Regions from separate parts of the Homo sapiens genome. Here regions 1, 2 and 3 are each linked to region 4. Evidence: promoter capture Hi-C in 16 types of primary human blood cells and fetal thymus (Javierre and others, 2016). All regions are on one chromosome and are shown on one strand. Each heading gives the region's core, a stretch centred on a gene start or on the middle of the fragment in contact. The rest is flanking DNA. Distances are from core to core; before and after follow the strand shown.

Region 1 (6,055 bases), core at 1,749-4,248, 250 kb before region 4:
AAGTGATCCCTCCGCCCGCTTTGGCCTCCCAAAGTATTGGGATTACAGGCGTGAGCCACTGCGCCCAGCCCCTATTTTTAATTTTATCTTTTTTTTCCCCTCCACCTTAAGACTGAGACTTTGCCCATTTTTTTAATTGGGTTGTTTATTGAGATGTAGGAGCTGTTTATATATTTTGTATGTTAACCCTTTATCAGATACATGATTTACAAATATTTTCTCCTATTCTGTGAGTTGTCTTTCACTCTCTTGAAGTGTCCTTTGATGCACAGAAGTTTTTAAGTTCAGTGAAGTTCAGTTTATTTATTTATTGAGACAGAGTGTCTCTCTGTTGCCCAGGCTGGAGTGCAGTCACGTGATCTCGGCTCACTGCAACCTTCACCTCCCAGGTTCAAACGATTCTTGTGTCTCAGTCTCCTGAGTAGCTGGGATTACAGGCGTATGCCCCCATGCCTGGATAATTTTTGTATTTTTAGTAGAGACGGGGGGGTCTCGCCATGTTGGCCAGGCTGGTCTCGAACTCTTGTCCTCAAGTGATCCGCCCACCCCAGCCTCCCAAAGTGCGGAGATTACAGGTGTGAGGTACTCTGCCCAGCTGCAATTCATTTATTCTTTTTGTTACCTGTGTTTTACGTGTCATATCCAATAAATCACTGTCAAATCCAATATTGTGAAGCTTTTCCCCTATGTTGTCTTCTAAGAGTTTTATATTTTTGCTCTTATATTTAGGTCTTTGATCCATTTTGAATTAATTTTTGTGTATAATGTAAAGACCCAGTTTGATTATTTTGCCAACACTATTGTTGAAAAAACTGTTCTTTCTCCATTGAATGGTCTTAAGCATCTTGTTGTAAATCATTTGACCATATATGTTGACTTTGGTTTTATAGTAATACCATTGTTACAATATGGTTTGATACATGTAATTTTTATTTGATGTTTCTGAACTTTGTTTAAAATATTGGACTTGTTCCATGGCTGAATGATTGATAATAAAATAATAAATAAAATATTGTACTTGGAAAGTAAATATGAGGGTAGTAAGTTAGTTATCTATTCGAGTAAAAGAAACTTGAGGCATAGCCAGTTGCAATTTGTGAGCCTGAGTTGGATCCTGGTCTATAAAATAAATTTAGATAAAATAGGGAAGTTTTTAATATGGACTGGGAATTAGAATTATACTAGGAGATTATTTTGTTAGATGTGATAATAGTTTTGTGGTTATGTGGAAGAATATTATTTTTATAGAGATACTTGCTGAAATATTTAGTGGTGAAGTATCAAATCTGCAACCAACTTTGAAAATGGTTCGGCCAAAATAGGAAATGTAGCAAATTATTAACCTTTTTTTTTTTTTTTTTTTTTTGAGATGGAGTCTCACTCTGTTGCCCAGGCTGGAGTGCAGTGGCACAATCTTGGCTCACTGCAACCTCTGCCTCCTGGGTTCAAGCAATTCTCGTGCCTCAGCCTCCTGAGCAGCTGGGACTACAGGTGCGCGCCACCATGCCCAGCTAATTTTTGTATTTTTAGTAGAGACGGAGTTTCACCACATTGCCCAGGCTCCTGACCTGGATCACGACCTCCTGACCTCGTGATCTGCCCGCCTCGGCCTCCCAAAGTGCTGGGATTACAGGCGTATATGGTGTTTATTGTATTACTCATTTTTTTCTTATGTTCGACCATTTTAAAAATACATTTTCAAAAAGTTGTTCCCACTGAGCTTTAGATTCACTTATCAGTGTTTGCTAGATAGTTCCAGGTAATGCGTAAGTACCTTAAACTCAACATGCCCCAGTTAAGCTATCATTTCCTAGTCGTCTTCCTTTATGTCCTTTCTCATAGGGTTGTTTTCTCCTCTACCTTCCATCTGACGTCACCACTCTGAGGAGGCCTTTTCCTTACAAACAATGTAAACAATCCCTCTGTCATGTATGCCATTGTGGTAAAACAACTGTTTACATTTTCAAGTCCCTCACTTGTTACTGAGCTCCTTCATTGTTGATCTCTTCTGTCCAGTATTCTTAAACTGAGCTGTTGAAATGTATTTTCCTTTATTCACCACAGTATTTCATCTTACTTGTGAGCGTTGGCTTTTTCAAAATGAGAGACACTGGTTCTTTTGATCCAGGCCTTGAATGTGAGGCCCAGAAGTCATTCCAGAGCACTAATCAGTTGAGCGGATAATTATTTGGCATTTAATCAGTGATGATCCCCATGTTAGACAAGGCGATCACTAAATGAGGCTGTGCTTTGTCTTTTAAAGGTGGGAAGAAGAGCGCTATCCTGAAGGCATCAAGTGGAAATTCCTAGAACATAAAGGTCCAGTATTTGCCCCACCATATGAGCCTCTTCCAGAGAATGTCAAGTTTTATTATGATGGTGAGTTGTTTCAAGGTTCTTGATTCTTGGCCAGGAAAAGAAATCTGCTTCTATTTAGGGATAGAAAACAAGGAAGGATCCTATGTAATAGATAATCCTTTTTATTTCATTTTGTTTTATTGCCATGCAATTTTGAGGAAGGGGCATCAGGTGTTAACTCTTAAAGGCTCATTTGCTGCTGAAAAAGTGCCATGGAAAAGGGGCTATTCATGTCTTCCCTACATAGTCCAAAAAAGGTTTGTCAACATGGCTAACAGTGTGTGGTCCACAAGCTGAAGGTTTTGATCTGAACTTCATTTCTAGGGAGCAACTCTTCGCAAGAGTTATTAGAAAAGCCTCACTTGAATGGTAGTATTTTATGTTAGCAATATAACAATGCAATCGGACAAGCTGCTCATCACTAGAAACAGTATTAGTATATGGTCGAGGATTAATAGTCTGCCATCCATCTCTAGATAGGGCTGGTAGGCATCTGTCACCTATTCTGTGTAGCATAACACTATGCCTTTGATATATGTGCAATCAAGTCTGATGAGCTGCTTTAAAGAAATGCCCTGCCTGGGTCTCTTAGAACCCTCAGAATTGTCCCTTATCTGTCGTTGGTATTTGTATCCTTGGGTTTGAAGGATTTGAGGGTAGCCTTTGACATGCCTCCTGTTGGCAGTGTAGCAGTATGTAGATGGTAATAACTGATTTTCTTCATTCCATGAGTTTTATCCAGAAATGGTTAGAGCATTGTTCCTCATACCCTTATGTGCTTATGACTCACCAAAGTGGATCTGAGCCCATTTAACAGTTGTGGGGTGGGCTTCTTTTCCCTTTCCCCACCGTCCCTCTTCTTCTTTCCCCTTTCCCAACCATCCTTCCCTCTTCTGTCCCCTTTCCTGACAGTCCCCCTTCTCCTTTCCCCAGCATTCCTCTTCCACCTCCACTTGTCTTACCACCGTCTTTTGGCCACTGTTATTTCACCACCCCATTTCTCCACCATTTTTCCCACCCTCAGCCCCCCACTGTTTTCTTCTCACCCATCCCACCGCCCGCACTGAAAAGAAAAAGTTCTGGGGTGGGATTGAGTACTTCTGAACCAAGTGGTCTGCTGACCAAACTTTGAGAAACACTGGGCAGGATAACTGCTGAAAAGCATCAGTGGTGAACACTCAGGCATTCTGGTGCATCTCTCTTCCCACCAGTAGTGGCCTTAGGTCCACCAATGCTTGTAGGCCTAGGTAGTAGTTTACACTAAAGGGCTGGGTCTGCAACTGAAGAAAGTGCCAAACTTGGCAAGCTGAAATTTGTTTTTTAAAATGCCATATTTATTAGCCAAGTGTGGTGGTGCACGCCTGTAGTCCCAGCTACTCGGGAGGCTAAGGTGGGAGGATTGCTTGAGTCCAGGAGGCAGAGATTGCAGTGAGCCTAGATCGTGCCACTCCCCTCCAGCCTGTGTGACAGAGTGAGACCCTGTCTCAAAAAATAAAATAATAAATAAATAAATAAAACATATTTATTGAATGTATTTGTGGTCAGACACCAAGACCCAGCAGTGGATAGTACTACTGACTTAGACCCTGATCTTGGGGAGTTTGCAGCCTAACAGGACTCCATAATCTCAGAGGCAAATGCTTATGTTATGTAAACATTTTGACCTGTTGACCAGAGAGCCTAAGACAGTTCTTTCAGCCCTCACGCTGGTCATTCCTGGAGACTCTTAACTATAACTCAAAGCCAAAACTCCTAATTAAGAGAAAGGGCCTAGAACCTTGAAGAGCACCATCTCAAAGCGTAGGTATTCCGTAGGCCTGGTCTGGACTTACCAAGAGCTTTAGGATGCTCAGCTGGTAAAGCCTCACTTTGAGGTTCAAAGTGATGGGAGGGAAAGCTAGATTCCCTAGTCCTGTGGTTTCTCTTCCTTTTCAAGATAGGAAGCAGAGGCCTGGTCTAGTTCACAGGTTGCCATAGTCCTTTCCTCCCATTCTTGCCCAGTCCTCCTTTACAGGATCCTGCTTTAGGGCTCCAGCATTTTCTCAGCTGGTCCTCTGCTGGGATTTCTTCTCTTTGATTGTGTGAACTCTTACTCTGCAGTAAGTCAAGAAGTCATATTTGACTTTACTTCAAACTGATACAGTAAGTGCTGCCTACTCTCTGGGGAGGAGAATTCTTAGACTCCTTTAGAACTTGCCAGGGAGGTGGGGCATGGGCTAGCTGAAGCAGTGAATTACTGCCTTCTCTGAGGACCTTCAGTTTACAGCTTTGATTCAGCAGTTTCCTTTTCCTGGAGCTCAGCCTTTTCCACAAAGTGTTAACATTGCCAGGAACCTTCCAGTCATCCTCCCACTACTCTGATGCAGGGAGCCATCATTTCATCTTTTGACAGCTCATCTAAAATAGGAGGAGTCACAGTTGCTTCTCCCTCTATTAGGACAGAATTCAGTAAAACAGCCCAAAATCTCATTTTTTTTAAATTTATTTTTATATTTATTTATTTGAGACAGAGTCACACTCTGTCACCCAGGCTGGAGTGCAGTGGCACAATCTTGGCTCACTGCAGCCTCCACCTCCAAGGTTCAAACGATTCTCATGCCTCAGCCTCCCAAGTAGCTGAAATTAACAGGCACGTGCCACCACACCTAAGTTTTGTATTTTTAATAGAGACAGGGTTTTACCATGTTGGTCAAGCTGGTCTGGAACTCCTGACCTGAAGTGATCCTTGCACCGCCTCCTAAAGTGCTGGGATTACAGATGTGAACCACCATGCTCAGCCACATTTTTTTTTAAATGGTGTTAACAGTTTACATTTTTTTCTTGCCATTTTATTTCATTTATTTTATTCCTAATGACTTAATGTTTTCCTTTATATTGGAAACATGTTACAGTTTTCTAAAGAAGTTCAGGGAATCTTTTAATACACAGCCTATCTTCCCCGAAGTGTCTTTCTTCCAAAGCAGAAGCTTGGGGGTTGATGGGGGCAGCTGCGCCACCTGTTGGCCTTTTAAGTTAATGGCGTCCAAAGTGGGTTCTTTCTATTATAACTGTTTCAATATTGTGCTACAGTTCTCTACACCCCTGCAAAGTCAGATTGCATATCATTATGAGATAAGATGTCTTCTGAGTTTTGAAATAAATGGATTTCTGGTTAAATTTTAGTTTTCTATAAAGAATGTGGGCAGCCTTGGTGAATTATTAATACCTGTGTAATAGTAAGGTGGTGGAATTATAGTTAACCTCATTTTAAGTATAGCCAAATGCTCTTAGTATAGCATGGATTGGTTCGAGGTGATGTTGTAAAGTTGGATTTTTAAGAAAGAATGGAAATTGGCACTAAGAGTACTGTCAAAAGCATTTGTTTGAAAAGTGGATTAAATTCCCAAGTACTTTTCTTTCATTGCTTTATTAACTAAATCAGGTATATAAAACCCATAGGCCCTATTCAGATTTTCTTTACCAGTTAGCAGCTTTCATTGTGAAAACATCTGAGTCCCTTTAGACAGCTTTTTGTTTATTTGAGACAGTCTCAGTCTGTTGCCCAGGCTGAAGTGCAGTGGCGTGATCTTGGCTCACTGCAACCCCTGCCTCCTGGGTTCAAGCGATTCTCATGCCTCAGCCTCCTGAGTAGCTGGAGTTACAGGCTCCCACCACCACGCCCGGCTAATTTTTTATATTTTTAGTAGAGATGGGTTTT
Region 2 (6,565 bases), core at 3,236-5,735, 230 kb before region 4:
CTCCTGAGTAGCTGGGATTATAGGCGTGTGCCACCATGCCCAGCTAATTTTTGTATTTTTAATAGAGACGGGATTTCACCATGTTGGCCAGGCTGGTCTTGAACTGACCTCAAGTGATCTGCTCACCTCAGCTGCACAAAGTGCTGGGATTACAGGTGTTAGCCACCATACCCTGCCTCTATTCTCTTGTTAAGAGGCATTTAGCATGGTTATACAGTCTCTTGCCCTCATAAACAGTGCTGGAAGAAACACATGTTTCTTGTGTATATGAATGAAAATTTGTTTTATACATTAGATATTTCCAAATTGTTCTCTTAAGTACTTCAGTTTACATCATTACTCTCCTCCTCCCTCCCCTCCCACCCCCACCCACAACAGTATTCCTCTTTTTCCATATCCTTGCTAATGTTTCTAAAGTTTTGCTTTTTACATTTGGGTCTTAGATCCACTAGAATGTATTTTTGCATTGGGATGAAGTTGAAACCTAATATATTTTCCAAATGAGTAAACTGTTGTCACAGAACTATTTAGTTGTATTACCTCCTCTCTTGTATATCAGATATATCTACATATATGTCAGACTGTTTCTGGGCTGTCTGTCCTCTTTAATTAGTTCGTGTATCTGTTTCTGCATCAGTAGCATACTGTCTTAACTACTGTAGCTTTATAAAGTCTATTGAGTAGGACAAGTTTGTTTCATTCTTCAAAATTGCTTTGGCTATTCTTGGCCCTCTGCTGTTTCATATTAACTTTCAGATAAACTTGTCAAATTCTAATGAAAACTGTTGATAAACTTGTTGATTAACAAATTCTAATAAAAACTGTTGAGATTTTTATTGGAATTGCAATACATTTATAGATTAACGGAGAAAGATATTGACAATACAATTGAGTTTCCAATTCACGAACATGTTATACCTCTCCATTAATTCATGTCTTTTGAATGTATCCACCAATATGGTTTTGTAATTTTCTTCATAAAGGTTTTACATTTAAAAAATTCTTATTTTTAAGTGATCTTATAGTTTTTATTGCTAATGTGAATGAGATTTTTTTCCATTATGTTTCTGTTGGTTATTCCTGAAGTGGTAATGCTTATAATTTTGGGGTGTTGGTCTTGTATCTGGCAGCAGATACAAGAGGTGCTCAGAGTTGTTCAGGGTTGCTGAACTCTTAGTTCTAAAAGTGTCTGTCATTTGGGGTTTCTATGTAGATAATTTAATTATCTATAAAAACAGTTCTTCATTTTCAGTTCATATATTTCATATTTCTTTAAGTTTTAATTTTTATTTTTAAACACAATTATCCATAAAACCCTAACCCTTTCCCTAGTCAACAGCAGTCACAGCCAAATGTTTTATTAATTGCTATACTCAGTGTTTCTTGTATCTCATACCTTCTGGGGTTTCTTGTCTTGTTGAAATACACCCTTTAATGTTTCTTTAGTGAAGACCCAACAGTGGCACTCACTCACCTTTGTTTACCTGAAAATTTCTTTATTTTCATCTTAATTCATAGTCTGTCTTTTCTCCAGTCAAGGAAGTGTCTTATAGGGAAGATTCTGGTTTCACTATGCTGTATCCAGGGATATATATGTATTTATAGATAGACTTTTAATCTGAGGACTAATGTATTTTATCCTACAGTATTACCAATCATTATTTCTTCCATAACTTCTAGACCATTCCTTTTGTACTTCTTTTTTAGAGTCCTATTAGATGAGTGTTGACACTTTTCAATCTAGACATCTTTTTTAAACTATATTTTCATACTCTTTGTCTCTTTAGGTCTGATTTTTTAAGTTCAGGGGAATATTTCATTTTGGGTGAGTTGTAGCACTCACTTCCAATTCACTAATTCTAATTATATTTAATCTACAAGTTATTCCATCTATAATTTATTTCAATTACCACTTTTTGTTTTCAAAATTTCTAATTTTATATCTGATTTTGTTTCATTTTTGTTTTATAATTTCATGTTCTTTCTAGATTTTACATCTTTTTATGCATACTAAACATACTCACTTGAAAGTCTTTGTAAGATTGTTCTATAAAATGTTACCTGAAGTGAATTCATGTGCTAATTACTGTTGGCAGTTTTTCTGAGCCATTTTCCTTGTGTCTTTTGAAATTTCTGTTTGTAAGCCCTTTTAACTGGGAGGTGTTTTTTGCTTATGTACTGTTCTCTTTTCTTTCCCTTCTTCTCCTTCTCTGTTCATTACTTTTTGTCTTGGAGGGAGTCTCTTAGCCCAGCTCAGCCCAAGCTAATAAGGCCCCTGACTTCAAGTCCCCCCTTCTTGCATGGAGCAAGAAGTGATCCTCCTGTCTCAGCCTCCCAAAGTGCTGGGTAGGCGTGAGCCACCACATCCAGCCTAGAGCACTTACATTGCTACATATTTGGAGCAAACATAATTAAAGTATGACTTACTGTGACCCAGCAGTCAATAACAGATATGTTTTTGTAATAGAATGTTGAAGGGTGGTAACTGGTGGTTTTACTTCATGGAGGGCTTTAGGTCGGCTATATGGGAAGCTGCCATCATGATGCTTTTGTTCTACACATTTCTGCTCAGCCTCCAGAGATGTCTCCTATTCTAAGAGTCGTCTTTGTTTACTCTTGTGTCTATATTTTACTTACTTAATTCCCTCACATAATAGTGTATCATTGTATCCCATCTGTGCTCTATCAAGAAATGTAGCACAAGCATGATGTGAACTATGAATTTTCGACAATTTAAAAAATTAAAGGAATCATTCAGGGGTAAAAAGCACAAAGTTGTAGAACAGCTGAAGTGTGTTCTTTTTATGTATCCTGTCTTTGCCCCCTTTCTGGAAACTTGGATTGGCCTACTTGCAGTCACTGTCACAGTTACACTACTTCTAGCCTCAAAGGTCATTGAAAGGATTGGGATTTTTGAGAACCACAATAACACTTGCTCTAGGTACTGAAAAGGTTGTCCTGAACTCATTCATATCTTTTTATGTTCATCCCAGTTTGTTTTTGCTTTTCCCCCCAGGATTTTGATTACACAGACATCTTGCAAGCATATTTCCATTCTTTCTCTCCCACTCTGTGCCTGGTGCCCGTAGGATCTGAAATAGCATTGGAATGACAGCTAGCCTTCTGGAACCTGCAGTTTCAACCAAAGAAACTCTGATTCCAGATAACCCAGGAGTTTCTTATCCTGCATAATCTAGGAGTTTACAAAAAGGCTGCTTATGGGTACTCACTGCTAAGTACAATCCACTGCCAAGTTTGGAAGCATTACCTGCTCTCACAACCCAGGGAAAGTAGCCCTTAGTAAAATTCAGGTTTTTTCAAACCAGCCTTAACCTTACAAACAGAATTTATCATCATGATTTTTCTTTCAAATGCAGTACAGCAAACTTTAGGATCAATGTTGACATCGTATTGCGTTTAGTCCTGTTAAAATACTCTCAGTGCCAAATACACACTTCTGCCTTTTTTCTCTTTAGAGTCTAGAATTCTGTGGGGTTCCAAAAATGTATGTGCTTACAACCTTTTATATGTAACCACCTAGGGATTAAAGGGCTAAATGTGAAGGAAAGTATCTTTACAATATTCATCTTGGGAAGCTCTCATTTTGGTGAGTTCTATTAGAGAAAATAAGACACAAGCTCATTAAAAATATATATATATTCTGAGCCTGGCATCTTGGTATAAAATTCAAAACGTTTTAAATCTATTTATTAGTAAGACTAACATAGACCTAAGTGTGAAGACTAAAATATTAAAGCTTGTAGGTGATATCATGGTTGAATATGACCTTAGAGTAGATTCCTTAGGACAGAAAAACACCAACAAGAGAAACAATTGACTAAATGGACTTCATTAAAATTAAAAATTTATGTTCAACAAAAGACACTGCTAAAATAAATACAGAATTTACAGACTAAAAGAAAATATTTGCAACATGTTTATCTGAAAGGGCTTATATCCAGACTATACAAAGAATTCCTGTAGCTCCATAATAAAAAAACAGACATCCCATCCGCATAATAAAAAGAGCAAAAGACTTGAACATATACTATACAAAAGAAGATACAGGAATGGTCAATAAATAAGCAAATGAAAGAGTGCTCGACATCACTAATTATCAGTGGAGTGAAGATTTAACCACAGGGAGATACGAATTCCAGTTCTAGGTATTTTTACCTCAAGTGAAATAAAAACATTTATCCATGAAAAAACTTGTACAAGAATGTTCATAGCAGTGCTCTATTCATAAGAGTGCAAAACTGGAAACATCCCAGAATAGATAACACATTATGGTATAGTCATAGAATATACTATATTTATCAGCAGTTAAGAAGGGAACTACTTATGTATTCAACAACATGGATGAATCTTAAAAACATGGTTAAGGGCCAGGTGCGGTTGGTGCATGCCTGTAATCCAAGCACTCTGGGAGGCCAAGGCGGGTGGATCACTTCAGGTCAGGAGTTCGAGACCAGCCTGGCCAACATGGCGAAACACCGTCTCTACAAAAAAATACAAAAATTAGCCGAGGGTGGCGCACACCTGTAATCTCAGCTATTCAGGAGGCTGAGACATGGGAATCGCTTGAACCTGAGGGGTAGAGGTTGCACTGAGCCGAGATTGCATCACTGTACTCCAGCCTGGTGACAGAGCGAGACGCTGTCTCAGAGGGAAAAAAAAAAGTTAAAAAGGCAGACAGAGGAGTCTATATTGTATGATTCTATTTATATAATCTAGACTAGGCAAAATTTATCCATGATGATAGTAATCAGATTGAAGGATCAGTGGTTGCTTGGTGGAAATTGACTGAGAAGGGAAATAGTCATGTAAGAATACTGGCAAATGTCCTCTTCCCCATTACAAACGTCTGAGAAAGTTACTAGAAAACAGAATCCAATTTGCCTTCTCACCCCCAACTTTGTAATCTTGAATCCAGATCCTGATTCCACCCAACCACTCTGCTGAATGGATAGCAGCTATATTAGAGAGACAATATAGTGGGCCTACTAGTTTTAAAAAGTCATCCAAAGAATGTCATCTACAATCAGTTAAATTAGATTTTTACCCATTACTGAAGTGTGATTGAATTAGGGAAAGAGGAGAGGTGGTCAAAGGCAGCCTTCTCCAGTGGATTCCTTGTCTTCTTGAGATGGTTTTGTGAGACCTTGCCTGGAAGACCTAGGTGGATAGTTTATTTTCTAAAAGTAGTCAAGAAAGCTTGTTCAGGGCATTGAACACTGCAGGGACAAGCATACTTCTTGGAGGCCAGCCATCTCCTGCTGGATCTAAGCGGGGTGGCTTCTGCCTCCACCTCCATCTCAGCTTATTTGAGAGAATCCTAGATCCTTGGTGCAGAAGCCCAGCCAGCCTGTGAAGAAAAGTTGGTCTGGTAGTATCCTGTGAATGACGTGCGGGTTGGGTTTTTCTAAATCTCGTTTACCTGACTCCTACCTTACATTCCAGTGGTGTGACTAAGGAACTGAGCAAACGTAACCCTAGGGGACTTTGAGACAGGCTTTGGTAGTCCATGTGCACTAGAGTGAGGGGAAAGAGGCCACTCCAGAGTTGGGTACTCTACTGTTGAAGGTGAGCCTTTTGTGTCCAATTTTTCCGTGCATGTGTAAGAACAGTTGTCATGGAGATTTACTACTGACTTGTGCATGAGGACAGCTTATATCTCACCTTTTCTTATTCACCCTGTTAAATGTCAAAATGTACTAAGACTTAGGTATTTTTTCTGTGTCACCAACTACTAAATCACCCACCCATGATAGCAGGTAGTTACTGAAACTCTTGTAGCCAAACAAGTGCATAACACTGGTACACATGATGTGAGAGTGCAGATGACTCCTTAGCTTAACTGTGTAAGCTTTTAATTTCTGAGTACTTTTAGGATTGAGAAGTGGAAGACATTCTTGCTCTAGGTATCTCATGCTTCTGCACACCCAGAAGGCTGGTTGCGCCCCCACCCCACCCCCCGCCCCCTTTTTTTTTTTTTTGATAGGGTCATGCTCTGTTGCCCAGGCTGAAAGGCTGGTTATCTTCACCACAGGTCTTATGTCTCAAGGACCACGGGTCCACGTCATAGTCAGGAACCAGGCATGTGTGGGCAGAAATCACTACCACTTTCCTTTGTTGCGGGTGGGGAAATTAAGAGCAGAGATTCTTGGATTCTTAAATTCCTTCTCTATGTTTATGTCATCTAGTCTGTTTTATGCTGTTTTATGTAATTCCCTGCTTCTGGATTTCTTGAATTTTTTTCCCCTTCTCACTTGTCATAATTGGCTCTTGCTTGTGAGTCTATTTTCATTCAGCTTGGTAGCAGAAGTCTTCTTCACTATTGTTTAGATTCAGTTTTCACATGGTTTTAGTAACCCTTCATTGGGTTTAGAATCAACTTTTAACCCTTCCACCAAAAGCTCTTATTTTTTTAAAGGCTTCCCAGAAACATAGTTTCTCTCAATCTCATCAAGAAATGCTTTTAAATGCAGAAGTTAGAAAATGGTGAATAATTATGGCTGTTCCTGGAAGTCATTGTGTCCTTAGTAATTACATGTTGTAGTCT
Region 3 (6,143 bases), core at 316-2,815, 150 kb before region 4:
ATTTCCTTTGCTATGCAGAAGATTTTTAATATAGTTCCCTTTGTCTATTTTTGTTTTAGTTGTGTTTTTGAGGTCTTAGCCATAAAATCGTTGCTCAGACCAATGTCCTGAAGTGTTCTGCACTGTTTTCTTCTAGTAGTTTCATAATTCAAGGTCTTATATTTAAATCTTTAATCTGTCTTAACTTTTGTATATGGTGAGAGATACAGGTCCAGTTTTATTCTTTTGCTTATGGATATCTAATTTTCCCAGCATCATTTATTGAAGAGGGTGTCCTTTCCTCATTGCATGTTCTTGGCACCTTTGTTGAAAATCAGCTGGCTGTAAATATGTGGCTTTATTTCTGGGTTCTATTTTCTTTTCCTTTGGTCTGTGGGTCTATTTTTATACCAATACCATGTTGTTTTGGTTACTATAGCCTTGTGATATATTTTGAAGTCAGGTAATGTGATGCCTACAGCTTTGTTCTTTTTGCTTAGGATTGCTTTGACTATTTTAGCTCTTTCGTGGTTCTGTACAAATTTTAGGGTTTTTTTCTACTCCTGTGAAAAAATCACATTGGTATTTTGATAGCAATTGCATTGAATCTGTAGATTGCTTTGGACAGTGTGGCCATTTTAATATTAATTTTTCCAATCCATAAGCTTGGGATGTCTTTCCATTTGTGTCCTCTTCAGTTTCTTTCATCAGTGTTTTACAGTTTTCCTTGCAGAGATCTTTCACTTCCTTGATTAAATTTATTCGTAAGTATCTTTTTTTATTTTTGGTAGCTATTGTAAATCAGATTACCTTCTTGATTTCTTTTTCAGCTATTTTATTATTGGTGTATAGAAACTCTGATTTTTGTACGTTAACTTTATATCCTGCCACTGTGCTGAATTTGCTTACCAGCTTTAAGAGTTTTGGTGGAGCATTTTTGGTTTTTCTAAGTATCAGATCATGTCATCTGCAAAAAGGGACAATTTTTCTCTTTTCCAATTTGGATGCCTTTTCTTTCTCTTGCCTGATTTCTCTGGCTAGAACTTCCAGTACTATGCTGAATAGGAGCGGTGAAAGTGGGCATCCTTGTCATGTTCCAGTTTTCAGAAGAAGGATTTTCAGCTTTTCCCCATTCAGTATGATGCTAGCTGTGGGTTTATTTATGGCCTTTACTATCTTCTTTCTATGCAGTTTTCTGAGTGTTTTTTTTTTATCATGAAGCAATGTTGAATTTTATCAAATGCTTTTTCTGTTTATTGAGATGACCACACGATTTTTGCTCTTCATTCTGTTGATGTGATGTATTGCATTAACTGAATGGTGTATGTTAAACCATCCTTGCATTATAATTTTTTGAGACAGAGTTTCGCTCTTGTAGCCCAGGCGGAAGCACAGGGGTGCAATCTTGTAGCCCAGGTGGAAGCACAGGGGTGCAATCTCGGCTCACTGCAACCTCTGCTTCCTGGGTTCAAGCAATTCTCCTGCCTCAGCCTCCTGAGTAGCTAGGATTACAGGCATGTGCCACCATGCCTGGCTAATTTTGTATTTTTAGAGATAGGGTTTCACCATGTTGGCCAGGCTGGTCTCAAGCTCCTGACCTCAGGTGATCTGCCCACCTTGACCTCCCAAAGTGCTGGAATTACAGGCATGAGCCACCATGCCCAGCCAAGGATTATTGATATGTGAGGTTTTGTTATTGTTATACTGTTGTTTTCTAGTTGTTTTATATATTTTTTTCCTTTTTCTTTTGTTTGGCATTGTACTCTGGTAGTTTTCTGTAGTGGTAGCATTTGAGTCTTTTCCTCATCTGTGTGTTTGCTTTGCCAGTGAGTTTTATACTTTTGTGTGTTTTACATAGTGTTAAATGTCATGTTTTCACTTCCATGTTTAGGACTCTTGTGAGCATTTCTTGTAGGGCCAGTCTAGTGGTGATCAATTCTCTCAGCTTTTGCCTGTCTTGGAAATACTTTATTTCTCCTTCATTTATGAAGGATAATTTTGCTAGACATAGTATCCTTGGCTTACTTTTTTTCCCCTTCAGCCCTGTCAACATATTATCTCATTTTCTCCTGATCTGTAAGGTTTCTGCTGAAATCCACTGTTAGTCTGATGGGGCTTCCTTTATAGTTGCTTACACACATTTCTCTTGCTGTCCTTAGAATTATCTGACTTTAGAGAGTCTGACTATAATGTGCCATAGAGAATACCTTTTTGCACTGTATCCATTTAGAGGCTATCAGGGCCTCCTATATCTAGATGTCTAAATCTCTTGTGAGATTTGGGAAGTTTTCACCTATTAATATTATTTCATTAAATAGGTTTTCTCACTCTTTCATTTTCTCTTAACCCTCTGGGATCCCAATAATTTAGATATGTAGTTGCTTTATTGTGTCCCATATGTCACAAAGGCTTTGCTCATTTTTTATTCTTTTTTATTTCTGAGTTATGTCAAAAGACCTGTGTTCTAGCTCTAAGACTTTTTTTTCTGCTTGATCTAATATATTGTTGAAGCTTTCAATTGTATTCTGTACTTTGTTTCATGAAGTCTTCTATTCCAGCATTTGCTTTTTTATGACATATATCTCTTTGATAAAATTATCATTCATTTCCCAAATTGTTTTTCTTTTTCACATTCTCTTACATCTCATTGAGCTTCCTTACACTCAATAATTTGAATTCTTTTTCTGGGATTTTGTGAGTTTATTTTTTATTGGAATCTATTGCAGGAAATTTATTGTGTTCCTTCTGAGGTGTCATATTTCCTTGCTTTTTCATGTTTGTGTCCTTATGTTGATATCTGCACATCTGGTGTAACAGTTGTTTCTTCTAATTTTTTGCATTTGCATTTGTAAGGGAGGACTTTTTCCTAGACGTATCTATGGTGTTGTTTGGGTAGGACACTTTGGCTTTGATTCTTGGTATGTGCAGTAGTGTAGTCTCTGTATGATTTCTTTGGCTATAAATAGCATCAGTGGTATCTGTGATTTCCTCAGTGGCTGAGTAGTTACTAGTGGAAGCTATGGTAAAATTTTGCTAAGGACTGGAATGCCAGGTGGGCCATTCTCCAGGCACCAGTGGTAGCAGCAGTGGACAGAGCATGCCTGTCTTTGGACCTCAGAGGAGCATACAATGGCACCAGTGTTAGTGGGTTCAAGCAGGCTGATTCTTGGGCTTTCGGGTGGCTTACTCAGATGTCAGTAGTGGCAGCAGTTCCCAGGCATGTGATCAGGTTCTCAGGCCCCTGGGCAGCTGGCGTGGCATGGGAGATGGCAGTGACAGTGTTGAAATGACCCTCTGGGTCCCAAGTGATATGTGCTTGTGTTGGCAGTGGCTGCAACAGGCTGGGCGGCCCATTCTGCAGGCCCACAAGTGGTACATACAGGTAGTAGTGGCCAAGTGGGTAAGCCCCAACCTCAGGTACCCAAGAGGAGTATTCAAGTGCCAATGGTGGTGGACTAGGCTGGACAATCCCCCAGCCCCTAGACTGTGTGCTCTGGCCACGGAGGTGGTGGTGTAAAGCCAGGCTGGGCAGTCTCATCTTCAGGCTCCCTATGATGTGTGCAGGTGCCAACCAAGGTGGGCAGGTGCAGGGCAATCCCTAGGCCACCTTCAGAATGCTTGGATAGGGAGTGGCAGTGCTGTACTACTACCTTCCATTGGAGAGCACAGGGTTGCTGGCCAGTGGGGAATGCATGTGCCACTCACACCTCACTCAGCTCCAGTGGCACTTGTGCCTCAGCCCCTGCTATGGTAGCTGGCACCATAGTTGTACCTCAGCCACAACAACAGGAGCACATGCCTTGTAGTGCTTCAGCCCCAGCTGCAGTAACCCAGTCACTTATGCCTCAGCTCTGGGGAAAACAGTCTGCAGTTCTCTTACACCTCAGCCCTGGCACTCAGGGACTCCAGGACAGTGTACAGTCTTTTGGGGGGTGGGCTTTAAATGGCATCTTGCTGTAGCTGTTTTGTTCTCAGGAAGTGTGGGGGACCCAGTGCGAGCTCCGTTCTGGAGCAGTTCCATTGAACAATCTCCTGGCACCTCCTATGTTAAGTTTCAGGGACTGCAAGGGCTGAGGAGCTCTCCCGTGGCTAGAACTGCAGAATCCTTTCATGGTGGAAATGTGGACCACTGAGGGTCTCTCACTTACCTTTTCCCCATGCTGGGGGGTCTCTCTCAGTTCCCAGCCAATCCCAGCTGAACAGGCTGCCTTGCTTCTTTTTCCTTCCTTACTTTGTTTCCTGTCTCTTTTCCGTGAATTCCAGTGTTCTGTCTTGGATAATCTATTCAAAGTGTGATTATCTACTCTCTATTTTTGTTCTTAATGGAAGAGGCGAGTACAAAATGCCTCTAGTCAGCCATTTTGGTTGGGTCTTCCTGGATTTTCTTATTTCTGTAAAAATGCGACTATGCTTTTGATAGATTTTACATTGACTCTGTAGTTTGCTTTGGGTCACGTCTACATCTTAATATCAATCCATGAACATGGGATATCTTTCTATTTATTTAGGTTATCTTTAATGTTTTTCAGCAACATTTTGTTGTTTTCAAGATACACTTCTTTGGCCTCCTTGGTTAAATGTATTCCTAAGCACTTTTTCTTTTTGATGCCCTTGTAAATGATACCATTTTTAAAATTTTCTTTTCAGATTGTTCATTGCAAGTGTATAAAAATACGACCAATTTTTTTAGACAGATAGGGTCTCACTATGTTGCCCAGGCTGGCCTCCTTGAATTCCTGCCTCAGCCTCCCAAGTAGTGGGACTACAGTTATGTCACTGTGCCCAGCTAAATACAAATGATTTTTTTTGTTTTTATATCCTGCAGCTTTGCCAAGTTCATTTATTAGCTCTTAACTATTTTTGTGTGTGTGTGGATTCAAGTTTTTTTTTTGTTGTTGTTGTTGTTTTTGTTTTTTTTTTTTGAGAAGGAGTCTCGCTCTGTCACCAGGCTGGAGTGCAGTGGCATGATCTCGGCTCACTGCAAGCTCTGCCTGCCAGGCTCAAGTGATTCTCCTGCCTCAGCCCTAACCCTGAGACTAAAGGCACATGCCACCATGCCCAGCTAATTTTGTATTTTTAGTAGAGACGGGGTTTCATCATGTTGGCCAGGGTGGTCTCGATCTCTTGACCTTGTGATCCACCTGCCTTGGCCTCTCAAAGTGCTGGGATTACAGGCGTGAGCTACCACAACTGGCCTCAAGTTTCTACATATATGATCATGTCATCTGTGAACAAAGATAATTTTACTTCTTCCTTTCGAACTTGGATCCTTTTATTTATTTTTTTTGCCTAACTGCTCTGGCTAGAACTTCCAATGCTGTTTTGAATAGATGTGGCAAAACTGGGCATCTTTATTTTATTCCTGATCTCAGGGGAAAAGTTTTCGGTCTTTCCCCATTGTTGAGTATGATGTTAATTGTGGGCTTTTCATATATGGTCTTCATCATATTGTCATATTCCTAGTTACTGAGTGTTTATTGTCATGAAAGCAAGTTGACTTGTTAGATGCTCTTTCTGCTTGAATTAGGATGATGTGTTTTATTCTCTTTATTCTTGTAATGTGGTGAATTACATTGATATTCATGTGCCAGGCAATCCTTGCATTGCAGGGATAGATCCCTCTTGCTCATGAGGTATAATCCTTTTAGTATGCTGCTGAATTTGGCTTGCTATTTTGTTGGGGATTTTTGTATCTATATTCATAAGAGATATTAGTCTGTAGATTTCTTTTCTTGTAGTGCCCTTGTCTTGCTCTGGTGTCAGGGTAATGGTGACCTCATGAGTTAAGAAGTGTTTACTCCTCTTCAATTTTTTTGGAGGAGTTTGAGGAGAACTGGTGTGTTAATTCTTCTTTCAATATTTGGAAGAATTCACCAGGGGTCCTAGACTTGTCACTGTTGGAATGTTTCTGATAACAATCTTCTTACCAGTTATTGATATATTTTGGTTTTTTATTTATTTGTCAGTTGATTTTGGGAGAGTGCGGGTTTCTAGGAATTTCATCTAGGTTACCCAATTTATTGGCACATAACTGTTAATAGTAGTCTCTTATAATATCATATTCATGTGAAAATATCTTATATTCATGTGAAAATGTAACATCCCCTCTTTCCTTTCTGATGTTAGTAATTTAAGTCTTCTCTTTCATTCTTATTTAAAGGTTT
Region 4 (6,515 bases), core at 3,581-6,080:
ACTGGTATTTCTAACAAGTTCCCAAGTGCTGCTGCTGGTCCAGGGACCACACTTTAAGAATCACTGTTGGGGCTGGGTGCTGTGGCTCACGCCTGTAATCCCAGCACTTTGGGAAGCCAAGGTGGGTGGATCACTTGAGGTCAGGAGTTCGAGACCAGCTTGGCCAACACGGTGAAACTCCCTCTCTACTCAAAATACGAAAATTAGCCGGGCATGGTGGCACGAACCTGTAAACCTGTAATCCCAGCTACTCAGGAGGCTGAGGCAGGAGAATCACTTGAACCTGGGAGGCAGAGGTTGCAGTGAGCCAAGATTGCGTCACTGCACTCCAGCCTGGGTGAAAGAGCGAGACTCCATCTCAAAAAAAAAAAAAAAAAAAAAGAATCACTGTTAGCCTGGCATGGTGGCTCACGCCTGTAATCCCAGCACCTTTGGGAGGCCAAGGTGGGTGGATCACTTGAGGTCAGGAGTTTGAGATCAGCCTGCCCAACATGGTGAAACCCCGTTTCTACTAAAAATACAAAAATTAGCTAGGCGTGGTGGTGGGCGCCTGTAATCCCAGCTACTTGGGAGGCTGAGGCAGGAGAATTGCTTGAACCTGGGAGGCAGAGGTTGCAGTGAGCCAAGATCACACAAATCCCCATCTCAGGGTGTCAGTTTCTTCACTGGTAAAATGGGATAACTACTGTCCCCATTATCCTGGGTTTTGTGAAAATCCAATGAGATAATGCAAATGAAGAACTCATGCACCCAGTAGGTGCTCAATAAATGTTAGCGATCCCTCCTGGGAGTAGGCAGGAGACATGGCAGGCAGGGAAAGCATGAACAGGAGCAGAGATGGGAAAGGTCCCAAGCAGGTCAGCTGGGCTGGCAGAAGAGCCAAGGCCCAGCACAGCAGCCAGGGAGTGTCCTGTAGAAGTAACTGGGAGCCACGCACAGTTCTGGAGCTGGGCAGTGACAGGTGGAAGCTGAATGTGGCAACATGGGGCAGAGGCCATTGCCGGCAGCAAGTCCCACGTGCTGGAGACTTGGCTGTTTGGCTAGACATAGGGTTGCCAGATTTAGCAAAGAAGATAAAGTATGTCCAGTTAAATTTGAATCTCAGATGAATAATGAATACTTTCTTTTAGTATAAGTATGTCCCAAATATTGCTTGGGTATACTTATATTAAAAAGCAGTTGCTGTGCATCTGAAATTCAGATTTACATGAGTGTCCTTTATTTTTATTTGCTGAATCTGGCAATCCCAACTAGACACCAGTTGCCTGCCCCCCAGCCCTTAGTCCTGCATGCAGTGGGAGACCCAGCCCCAGGGTCCACTGCCTCCCTTCCCACCTTCAACAAAGCCACCAGGAGTGATTGATGAGCTGCTCCCAGAAGCCAGTATTGCTGCTCTGAGTGATCACAACTACAGGCCTGGGTAAGGGGGCCCTCTCACCTCATGCCAGGTTCACCCAGCAAGAAAGTAGAGGGGCACAGTCACTAACCACTGGGTCTGTAAATTAACAAAGCACATAGGGTGAATGGAATGACTCATCCCAGGACTTTGAGAGGCAGAGACAAGAGGATTGCTTGAGCCCAGGAGTTCGGGACCAGCCTGGGTGACATAGTGAGACACCCATCCCTACAAAAAATTTTTAAAAATTAGCTAGATGTGGCTGGGCACCGTGGCTCACGCCTGTAATACCAGCACTTTGGGAGGCCCAGGCGGGTGGATCATGAGGTCAAGAGTTCAAGACCAGCCTGGCTAAGATGGCAAAACTCTATCTCTCCTAAAAATACAAAAATTAGCCAGGCATGGTGGCAGGCACCTGTAATCCCAGCTACTCATGAGGCTGAAGCAAATAATCGCTTGAACCTGGGAGGCGGAGGTTGCAATAAGCCGAGATTGTGCCACTACACTCCAGCCTGGGCAACAGAGCGAGACTCTGTCTCTAAAAAAAAAAAAAAAAAAAAAAAAAAGCCAGGTGTGATCATGCATGCCTGTGGTCCCAGCTCCTCGAGAGGCTGAAGTAGGAGAATTGCTTGAGCCCAGGAGGTCAAGGGTGCAGTGAGCTGTGATTGTGCCACTGCACTCCATCCTGGGTGACAGAGCCAGACCCTGTCTAAAACAAAACAAAAAAACAATAAAACACATAAGCTACCAAATTCTGTAAAGAAGGAAGTACCACCTGCATTCTTGGATTAATGAAGAAACAAACAGCTGCCAGTGATATAGGCTCATCCGATGAGTATACCCAAGCAGAGGAAAAAATGGCCTCCACCTTCAACCCCAGAAATGGGCAAACACAAGTGTCCATGCTGCTTGCACCCTCAGAGAAAGCCCTGGAGATGGTGATGTCAACCACAAGCTAGAGTGGGACAGTCTCTGCCTTATTCAGTTCCATTCAGTGTTAGAACAAGTCATACTAGCAGAGGCTGTTCTATCTGCCTTTCTTCTCCTACCCTCATCACCAAATCCCAGATGATTGAGAGTTCCAGAAACGAGCCTGTCAGAAATGCAATTTTTCTTTTTCTTTTTTTTTTTTTTTGAGACAATGTCTTGCTCTGTCACCCAGGGTGGAGTACAGAGGCGCCATCTCAGCTCACTGCAACCTCCACCTCCTCGGTTCAAGTGATTCTCCTGCCTCAGCCTCCTGAGTAGCTGAGACTACAGCTGTGCACCACCATGCCTGGCTAATTTTTTTTTTTTTTGTATTTTTAATAGAGACGGGGGACCGAGCGCAGTGGCTAACGCCTGTAATCCCAACACTTTGGGAGGCTGAGGTGGGTGGATCACGAGGTCAGGAGATCGAGACCATCCTGGCTAACACAGTGAAACCCTGTCTCTACTAAAAATACAAAAAATTAGCTGGGCATGGGGATGGGCCCCTGTAGTCCCAGCTACTCAGGAGGCTGAGGCAGGAGAATGGCGTGAACCCGGAAAGTGGAGCTTGCAGTGAGCAGAGATGGTGCCACTGCACTCCAGCCTGAGTGACAGAGCGAGACTTCATCTCAAAACAAAAACAAAAACAAAAAAACAGAGATGGGGTTTCACCGTGTTGGCCAGGCTGGTCTCCAACTCCTGACCTCAGACGATCCGCCCACCTCTGCCTCCCAAAGTGCTGGGATTGCAGGCGTAAGCCACCTCACCCCAGCCGCAAATGCAATTTCTGCAACAACCTTTATATCAACTTTTTTTCCTCTAACAATGAACAATGAAAACAATTTGTGCTCCATCTTTAAAAATGTGTGACACAAAAATTTTTTAAATAAAAATAAATATGTGATAAACATTCCTGAATGCCTAGTGTGTGCCCTGGCGCTGTGCTCTGCATTTAATTTGGATCAGCAGTTCTCAGCCTTGTTTGTACATTACAACCAACTGGAGAGGTTTTTAAACTCCCAGTATCCGGGGCATCAGTATTCGTCTAGGGCACAGTGATTCTAACACACAGTCAAGGTTGAGAACCACTTATTTAATTCATCCTGTAAATCCTCACAATAGAATCCTGCAAGGTAGCTTTTATCACCACCTTTGCCGATGAAATTGAGGCTCAAAGAGGTAAATTGATTTCGGCATCTGTAGCCCCAACCTGTGACCTCTCCTTCCTTCCTTCTCGGGCTCCCTTCAGGGATTTCCTGATGTTACAGAAAATGGTATGTATGACGCTGCCCTCCTGGCCACCTTGACATAGCTCTGCTCCCAACAGGGCTCTTCTGAGATAGCAGCCAGACACTACCTGGGATCAGGACTGATACTAAATGACTTCTGCCAAAATGAGGACAACTGAGGCCAGTCACTTCCAAACAGGTTCTGTCACCCTGAGTCAGAATAATGGCAGCTACCTCTCCTCCTCACCGCCCAGTCGTTTCTAAGCCTGGCTCGTCGCCGTTGCTGCTCCGCCAAGCCTTTCCTCGGTGCCCTCTCTCTTTTAGAACAAATTACTTCATCTCCAGGCCCTTCTCAGGGCAGCTTCTTTGCAGGGGCCATAGGGCGTCGGAAAGGTCTTTGGTCCAGGAAAGCCGCGAGCCACAGATCCAAGAGGAAAAAGCCGTTCCCGGCCCGGGCCTTGCCCAAGGCACGAGAGTAAATGCACCTTCCGCGTGCCTCGGCGCACCTGGGCTCACCTGTCCCCTCCCGCAGTGCCTGCAGACAGGGAGGGAGCGCGGCTGGGCCAGAAGGCTGATCACCGCCTGCCCCCTGCTGGCCAGTGTCAGTATTGAGCCCGCTGCCGCTCGACCAGAACGTCCCAGGGATGGAATGAAGGTGCGGGCATTTATGGAGCGCCTGCTGTTTGTCAGGCGAGGTACTGATAAGCGCTGGAGTGTAAGGATGTACGTGACCTGCTCTCAGAGTTCAAATTTAAATGAAGAGATATACATTAATCAAGTAGTCATTCAAGCAAATATGAAATTACAACTGTGGGCTATGCGAACAGATGACGCGAGGGGCCTGTCCAGTCTGGGAGATACGGGTGGGTTCAGGAAAAGCTGCCCCCAGGAGGGGACGTTTGAGCGCCAGGAGCCGCGCAAAGTCATTTCATGTCATCTCTAAAATCCTGCAAGGCGGCTTTCCCCCTTGACAAAACAGGAAATGGGATCAAATTGAGGAAGGAATTCACCCAAGATCACACAGCAAGCTGGAAGCAAATCTGGGAGGAGCTAGGTCCGCCCCGTTCCGAAATCCACACTTTTCTGGAGGTGGGGCAGGCGGTGGCACAGGGACTTGGGGCGGGGTCTGGTGGGCGGGGCATGAAGTCTGGCCCCGCCCCCGCCTCCGAGGCCAAAGGGCGCCCTGGGCGGGGATCGGAGCAGGGGCGGGGTCTTTCCAGGGAGTGGAGCCTGGGCAGATTGGGGCCTGTGGAGGCCGCACTAGGATCGTAGAAGGAGTGGAGCCGTGCTCTCACCCTGTCTTAGAGGACCCGGAAGCGCCAAGTGACTGAGGGCCGAAGACACTCACCTGTGGAGCCTGTGCACGTAGGTAGAGGCGGCGGCTCTGAGTCCAGGAGCTCCAGTGGGCAGCTCCCCAGGTAGGGCCCAACTCGGGGGGAGAAGAGATGACCCTCTCCCCTCCCGCCCTGCCCATCTGTCCTGCCATCCTACATTCCTTCCTTCCTGTCCGCGGGCCTGGGTCCACCCCTAGCTGTAAGATGGGGACGCAGGGGTGGAGGGACTGGCCTCATTTTGTCCCTTTTTCCCTGGCCCAGCGGCTGCAGGCCCCCTGGACACCCAGAACGTAGAGTCTGGAGAGGAGACGTCGAAACCTCCCAGGGGAGGCTGGCCCAGCTTTACCCCAGCCTGACTGTGTGACCTTGAGGAGGACAGCCACTTTCTCTGGTACCCAGTGTCCTCAGTTGCAAAACAGTGACTGGCCCTTGCCCTGCTTGCCCTGAGACTGGGCAGATCAGATGCTGTAGCTGCTGGGGGCTGGGGTGGCGCTTTCTCTCTACTGGGGCACTAGGAGTGCTTACTCTCCTGCTCCCTCTGGTCCTCGGTGGAGAGCCACACCCTTCATCCACCCAAACCTGGGAGCCCCGAGGGCTGAGAGCCTAGTCCTAGGGCAGCTTGCTCTGGCTTCCCTGTGCTAGAGTTGTAGTCTAGCCTGGAAGGCCTGTGAACATCCCCAAGGTGGGGTGTGAGGCCTACGTGGAGTGCACATGCTCGTTTTGCAAATAGTGGTGCCACCATTGTGCATGGCCTTGAGTGCCAAGTTAAGAAGTCCAAACTCCGCTGGGCGCGGTGGCTCACGCCTGTAATCCCAGCACTTTGGAGACTGAGGCGGGTGGATCATGAGGTCAGGAGATCGAGACCATCCTAACACGGTGAAACCCCGTCTCCACTAAAAATACAAAAAATTAGCCGGGTGTGGTGGCACACGCCTGTAGTCCCAGCTACTCGGGAGGCTGAGGCAGGAGAATTGCTTGAACCCAGCAGGCGGAGCTTGCAGTGAGCCAAAATCATGCCACCGCACTCCAGTCTGGGTGACAGGGCAAGACTCCATCTCAAAAAAATAAATAAATAAAAGAAGTCCAAACTCTCAACTGCTGGCAGGGGCAGTTCATCAGAGTATGACCTGCAGTGCCCACAGGACCAGCCTGCATGAGTGGGGCTGTCATGATGCTGCTGCTGATAGGTGTACATACAGGTTTTTATTGCATTCCAGGGCTTTACACAAAGTCATTAGTTACTCACACGTGCCTGATGTTATTCCCATTTTGGAGGCTGAGACTGAGGGTCAGAGAGATGAAGTCACTTGCCCATGGTCACAGCTAGCAAATGGCGGAGTGGGGATCAGCACCCAGATAATCTGGTGCCTTTTCTCCTAATGTCCTGTGGCCACCCGTGATCTGGGCATCTGGTTATAAAGTCTTAACCTAGGACAGCTGGAGAAAGGAGGGGCTGGATGAGCAGGAAATTGGGGGAGAAGATTCAGAGGGCTAGGGAGGGAGAGAGGGGTAGTGACTAGTCCTAAGGGGTATTCGGCTTCCTGGGAAGGTGTGAGGAGTGAAGTGGCTGATTTTAGACATGTTAGT

What was found. The method cuts DNA at HindIII sites, captures the fragments that hold promoters and counts their contacts. A CHiCAGO score of 5 or more calls a contact.
Region 1: a fragment that was not itself captured here is called in contact with the fragment with the promoter of LPIN3 in region 4 in 8 of 17 cell types (activated CD4 T cells, non-activated CD4 T cells, naive CD4 T cells and 5 more); the score reaches 12.9 in activated CD4 T cells.
Region 2: a contact is called between a fragment that was not itself captured here and the fragment with the promoter of LPIN3 in region 4, in 13 of 17 cell types (activated CD4 T cells, non-activated CD4 T cells, naive CD8 T cells and 10 more). The highest score is 16.7, in activated CD4 T cells.
Region 3: a contact is called between a fragment that was not itself captured here and the fragment with the promoter of LPIN3 in region 4, in 15 of 17 cell types (activated CD4 T cells, total B cells, non-activated CD4 T cells and 12 more). The highest score is 9.4, in activated CD4 T cells.

Annotation. Positions count from the first base shown.
Region 1 is chr20:41,090,209-41,096,263 of GRCh38, forward strand. It overlaps TOP1 (DNA topoisomerase I), which reads left to right. Exons shown (of 21, transcript NM_003286.4): 9 at 2,264-2,379. Among named protein-coding and RNA genes, the nearest start is that of PLCG1, 44 kb to the right of the region's middle. The HindIII fragment of the contact is 4,648 bases long and covers 675-5,322 here.
Region 2 is chr20:41,105,618-41,112,182 of GRCh38, forward strand. All of the region lies in intron 13 of TOP1 (DNA topoisomerase I), which reads left to right. The region is part of intron 4 of PLCG1-AS1 (PLCG1 antisense RNA 1); the gene reads right to left. Among named protein-coding and RNA genes, the nearest start is that of PLCG1, 29 kb to the right of the region's middle. RefSeq lists a silencer at 5,780-5,859. The HindIII fragment of the contact is 1,460 bases long and covers 3,756-5,215 here.
Region 3 is chr20:41,188,825-41,194,967 of GRCh38, forward strand. The region is part of intron 3 of ZHX3 (zinc fingers and homeoboxes 3); the gene reads right to left. Among named protein-coding and RNA genes, the nearest start is that of MIR6871, 23 kb to the left of the region's middle. The HindIII fragment of the contact is 1,846 bases long and covers 643-2,488 here.
Region 4 is chr20:41,335,991-41,342,505 of GRCh38, forward strand. LPIN3 (lipin 3) reads left to right here and starts at 4,831. Exons shown (of 20, transcript NM_022896.3): 1 at 4,831-5,012. RefSeq lists an enhancer at 4,443-4,492 and a silencer at 4,653-4,812. The HindIII fragment of the contact is 12,951 bases long and covers 1-6,515 here.